Linked DNA regions of Homo sapiens: region 2 is linked to region 1. Evidence: promoter capture Hi-C in 16 types of primary human blood cells and fetal thymus (Javierre and others, 2016). All regions are on one chromosome and are shown on one strand. The core of a region is centred on a gene start or on the middle of the fragment in contact, and the rest is flanking DNA. Distances in the headings are between cores, read along the strand shown. Region 1 holds the start of ABTB2 (ankyrin repeat and BTB domain containing 2). Region 2 overlaps CAPRIN1 (cell cycle associated protein 1).

Region 1 (2,700 bases), core at 136-2,635:
AAGCGAAACTGCCAAATAAAAAGCAGTTTCACCGGGGGTAAAGGCCATTAATTTAAGAAGGAAAGAGACAAACCAGACATTTCTAGTTCATATCCAACTCACGGCCCAAGGTCAGAACTGTGTAAAATGCAACACAAAGGAGCCATTCAGGAGTGGGGGAGGCTGACTTGGGGAGAGCGAATGCACAATCCCCGCCTTGAGCCTGCGGTTCCACTGGAGGGGGCACAGGTCCGTTTGCGCACGTGCGTGTGAGTAGCCACAGGGCAGCGGCGGGACATGCCTGCACCGGGCATGGGACTGCTGAACCAACAGCGCTCTGGCGGACCGTTTGGGACACCCGCCCGGAGGCAGGTTGGCACTGGCGCTGCCTGGAGGTCAGCCACTCATTGTACCCCGGAGGAACTGGGTCCCGCGGGGGCATACGGCTCGCCCACCGGCACGCGTTAGGAGGCGAACACCTGCATCCAGCTAGGTGTTCCGAGCTCAGCCCAGGGCGAGGGACTGCTCTGCCACCTTCTTCTCATTCTTCCTGTAAGAACACTGTCTATCTCGGACAAAAAGGACCCACCTGACAGCAAGTGGTATCGTCACACAGAGGTAACAGGGAAGTCACGGATCCTCTTGAGAATCTGACAAAAGTTGGTGCCCCTTCCCCATAGTGGCACTCAGAAAACTGCAGGTGAAACCACAAATGGGCGGAGGCACTCACAGGCTTCCTGGGGCCCGTCCATTGATCAGATACCAGGTTAAGAAATTCTGTCCTTATTGGAGCCTAGACGGCAGCGCAAAGGAACCAGACGGACTTGGAAAGAGAGGCAGGGACTCCCTCCTCCCTCCAAACACAGCCAGCGTTTCATCTCGGATTGCGGGAGGGGCCTGGCGGAAGGTGGAGGAGAGGTGGAGCGCCTGGATGGGGCCCTCCCCATTCTCCTGGCCCCAACCCCAGGACGCCTGGCTGCGGAGGGCTCGAAAGCGAGCAGCGAACGCCCAAAGCCTGGGTGGCGGGAAGGTGGCAGCGCCCTGTAGCTTTTCCTTTGCATTTTTCTTTAAATCGTGAGCTCCGGAGCTATCGTTTCGACCGCTGCTTTCCGGTCTCCACCTCCACCTCCCAGTTGGCTGGCTCGCCCTTCCCCCACCCCCCCATCCCCCCCATCCCCCCCCATCCCCACCCCCATCCCAGCCGCGTGCCCGACCCTCGGCCTCCAGCCCCGCCTCCTTCGCCGCGGGGTTTAACCCGAGGCAGAGTGAAATCTGCATAGTGACCGCCCCCTCGGAGATCATTGGTGCAGCCCCGCCCATCGCGGCCGGTGATTGGTAAGCCGCCCGGGGTTATTTGCATGTCGGACGCAGCCGGGTACCCAGCTGTGCTGCCGGCCGGCGCAGCGCAGAAGTTTGCAGAGCGCTTTCTCGCCGGCTGGTCCCGGACTCGCGCTGCGCCCTGCGCCCTGCGCCGCCGCCTCCTCCTTCTGCCGCCGCCGCCCTGTTCTCCCGGGATTCCTTCTCTGTGGAGGACTGACTCTCTGCTTGTGGGAATTAGAGGTGGACAAGGGGGAGTGCCGGGGGGTAGCGACGGGGTTCTTTCCAGTGGCAGCTGCGAGTCGGGACGCCGGGAGCGTGGGGCTCCTGCTGGCCACGGATCTCGGCCACCTTCCCGCGGCCTCCGGGCAGGCAATGCGGCCGCCGAGCCCCGCGACGCAGAGAGGAAGGAGGGTGGCCCGGAGGGCCTAGAGCTTGTTTCTGCCCACTTGGGAAAGAGGGCATGGAGTTGTGAGTGCCCCTCGCTCGGCGACGCCGCCCTCGGCAGGCTCCCCATGGCCGGGACGTACAGCTCGACTCTGAAGACGCTGGAGGACTTGACCTTGGACTCCGGGTATGGGGCCGGGGACTCGTGCCGCTCGCTCAGCCTCTCGTCCTCCAAGTCCAACTCGCAGGCGCTCAACTCTTCGGCGCAGCAGCACCGCGGGGCGGCCTGGTGGTGCTACTCCGGCTCCATGAACAGCCGCCACAACAGCTGGGACACGGTGAACACGGTGCTGCCCGAGGACCCCGAAGTGGCCGACCTCTTCTCGCGCTGTCCGCGGCTCCCCGAGCTGGAGGAGTTCCCCTGGACCGAAGGAGACGTGGCCCGGGTGCTCCGCAAAGGCGCTGGCGGCCGGCGGCTGCCCCAGTTCTCCGCCGAGGCGGTGAGGCGCCTGGCCGGGCTGCTCCGCAGGGCACTGATCCGCGTGGCCCGCGAGGCGCAGCGCCTGAGCGTGCTGCACGCCAAGTGCACCCGCTTTGAGGTGCAGAGCGCCGTGCGCCTGGTGCACAGCTGGGCGCTGGCCGAGAGCTGCGCGCTGGCAGCCGTCAAGGCGCTGTCCCTGTACAGCATGAGCGCCGGCGACGGGCTGCGCCGGGGCAAGTCCGCGCGCTGCGGCCTCACCTTCTCAGTGGGTCGCTTTTTCCGCTGGATGGTGGACACCCGAATCTCCGTGCGCATCCACGAGTACGCAGCCATCTCCCTCACCGCCTGCATGGAGAACCTGGTGGAGGAGATCCGGGCCAGGGTGATGGCCAGCCACAGCCCTGATGGCGGAGGGGCCGGAGGCGGGGAGGTGTCTGCTGAGGCCCTGGAGATGGTCATCAACAACGACGCCGAGCTCTGGGGCGTCTTGCAGCCCTATGAGCATCTCATCTGCGGCAAGAACGCCAATGGTAAGC
Region 2 (2,810 bases), core at 128-2,627, 260 kb after region 1:
CTCTTGAAAATCTTTACTTGACCTATTTTACACCCTTAAGAAACTCCAAATACATTAATAGTTGTTAGAATCCTATTTTACGATGAAAGCACTAGGGAATACCTAGAGAAAAAGAGAGAGCCACTGCTCCTCTTGAATTACTTAGTAAACCAACTACATCGGTGTCATCTTTTTACATAGATTGCCTTTTATTATATTCCCAAAATTTAAAATTGTAAGTGAATGACAAATACACATAACATTTTCCTTGTAAAATGGTTCATGTGTATCCATGTACAAAGTAGCCAAAAGAACTGAATTTTAGAATCATTTTATCAATAACAGCTTTTAATCTTGATCAAATCTCACTGTAAGAAATTCATAGCCAGGCTGGGTGTAGTGGCTCACACTGGTAATCCCAGCACTTTGGGAGGCCAAGCTGAGCAGATTACTTGAGCTCAGGAGTTTGAGACCAGCTGGGCAACACAGTGAGACCCCATCTCAACAACAACAACAACAACAAAATACAAAAAATTAGCCAGGCATGGTGGTGCATGCCTGTGGTCCCAGCTACTTGGGAGGCTGAGGTGAGAGGATGGCTTAAGCCTGGAAGGAAGAAGTTGTAGTGAGCCGAGATCGTACCACTGCACTCCAGCCTGGGAGACAAGAGCAAGACTCTGTCTCAAAAAATGAAAGGAAAAAGGAAAGGAAAGAAAGGAAGAAACTCACAGCATAATAACTTAAGTGTGATCTTTATTTTATTTAATTTTCACTTTTAAGACAAGGTCTAGCTCTCTCACCCAGTACTGCTGAGGTTGGAGTTCAGTCAAATAATCTTGGCTCACTGCAACCTTGAACTCCTGGGCTCAAGTGATCCTCCGGCCTTAGCCTCCTGAGTAGCTACAACTACAGGCATTCACCACCTCACCCTGCTAATTTCTGTATTTATTTTATAGAGGTGGGGCTCTGTGTTGCCCAGGCTGGTCTCAAACTCCTGGTCTCAAGTGGGCCTCCCAAAGAGCTGGGATTACAGGCGTGAGCCACCACACCCAGCCTTCATTTTATTTTAAAATACCCAAATTCCTACTTAAATTTTGGTAAAGTATAAACTTGTAGGCCATTTTAAAAAGCCAAAGATTCTGTCATGTTGTTCCTGATTAGACACTAATTCAAAATAAAATTTCTAAAATGATGGGACATACTGAAATGATTTCTTCAACAAATATCAGGCCGGGAATGGTGGCTCACGCCTGTAATCCCAGCACTTTGGAAGGCCGAGGCGGGTGGATCACCTGAGGCCTGAGGCAGGAGGCCGAGGCAGGAGAATCGCTTGAACCCAAGCGATTGAACCTAAGAGGCGGAGGTTGCAGTGAGCCGAGACTGCATCACTGCACTGGACAACGGCCCACAATGTATACATATTATTTCATCATGAACGCCTGGCCTCAAGCAATCCTGCCACCTCAGCCTCAAATGTAGCTGGGATTATAGGTGCCAGCCATGAAGCCCGCCCACAACGGACACACATTTCAACACATCATGCTGTATACCATAAATACACATATATATAGTTTCTACTTCTCAATTAAAAATAAACAAATGAACTTTTTTTAAAAAAATAGAAAAAGCAATCCATGTACTTATCAGTGGGAGAAAGTTTTCGGCAAGAAGGAAAGTAAGTATGAAGGCCCTGAGATTAAAGAGAACTTGCTGCGTATGTGACTGGTGTTCGAGACCAGCCTGGACAATATGGTGAAACCCTCTCTCTACTAAAAATACAAAAAAAAAAAAAATTAGCCAGGCATGGTGGCCTGTGCTACTTGGGAGACTGAGGTAGGAGGATCCCTTGAACCCAGAAGCAGAGGTTACAGTGAGCCATGGTGATCACACCACTAGTTTTTATCATTTGGAAGCTGAGCATAGTATAACTGATAACTTCTATCAGAGTATGGAAGATTCGAGCTTCATATTAGTGATACTGAATACTACAGGATGTGTAAGAATTTACTACTGAAAAATCTAATGCTGATCCAAGTTTACCAAGAAATTGAATAATTAGAAAATTTTACAACTTTTCAAAATCGGGCTGACAAAATGAAAGTATTAACTCCTCTGACTGCTGGTTTGTTGTGGGATTCCAATTAAATTCTGAGGAATTAAAGAACTAAAGAAGACATCATGGTGGCTCATGCCTATAAGGTAGAGGTGGGAGGACTGCTGGAGGCCCTGAGTTTGAGAAAAGCCTGCAGTCCAAGCTACTTGTGGGGAGTTAAAGGCTCCAGTACAGGATTTGAGCCCCAGAGTTAAAGGCTCCAGTATCTGATTACACCACTGCACTCCAACCTGGGCAACAGACAGAGACCCCATTTCTTAAAAAAATATATATATAAAAAAAAATCTAAAGTATCTCTATCGAGCTAGACAAGGTAGTTCATGCCCATAATCCCACCACTCTGGGAGACAGAGACAATAAGTTCGCTCAAGGCAAGGAGTTGGAGATCAGCCTGGCATCATAGTGAGCTCCTGGAGACCCTATCTCTACAAAAAAAAAAAAAAAATTAGCCAGCCATGGCGGTAAGCACCTGTAGTCCCAACTACCAACTACTCAGGAGGCTGAGGGAGGAGGATCATTGAGCCCAGGAGTTTGAGGCTGCAGTGAGTTATGCTGGCATCACTGCACTCCAGCCCGGGCAACAAAGTGAGAACCTGTCTCAAATACATAAAAGCGTCCCTACCTACATTACTATCGTGACAGGTATGGTAACTAGCCAAATTATGACCTTACTTGACAAAATAGATTATGTTTCAACCCAGTCCACGAAATGCAGCCA

The links. The method cuts DNA at HindIII sites, captures the fragments that hold promoters and counts their contacts. A CHiCAGO score of 5 or more calls a contact.
Region 2: a fragment that was not itself captured here is called in contact with the fragment with the promoter of ABTB2 in region 1 in 2 of 17 cell types (M2 macrophages and megakaryocytes); the score reaches 5.7 in M2 macrophages.

What each region holds. Positions count from the first base shown.
Region 1 is chr11:34,356,695-34,359,394 of GRCh38, reverse strand. ABTB2 (ankyrin repeat and BTB domain containing 2) reads left to right here and starts at 1,385. Exons shown (of 17, transcript NM_145804.3): 1 at 1,385-2,694. The coding sequence starts at 1,812. RefSeq lists a silencer at 1,200-1,399 and an enhancer at 2,350-2,459. The HindIII fragment of the contact is 9,392 bases long and covers 1-2,700 here.
Region 2 is chr11:34,092,753-34,095,562 of GRCh38, reverse strand. All of the region lies in intron 15 of CAPRIN1 (cell cycle associated protein 1), which reads right to left. Among named protein-coding and RNA genes, the nearest start is that of NAT10, 11 kb to the left of the region's middle. The HindIII fragment of the contact is 6,491 bases long and covers 1-2,810 here.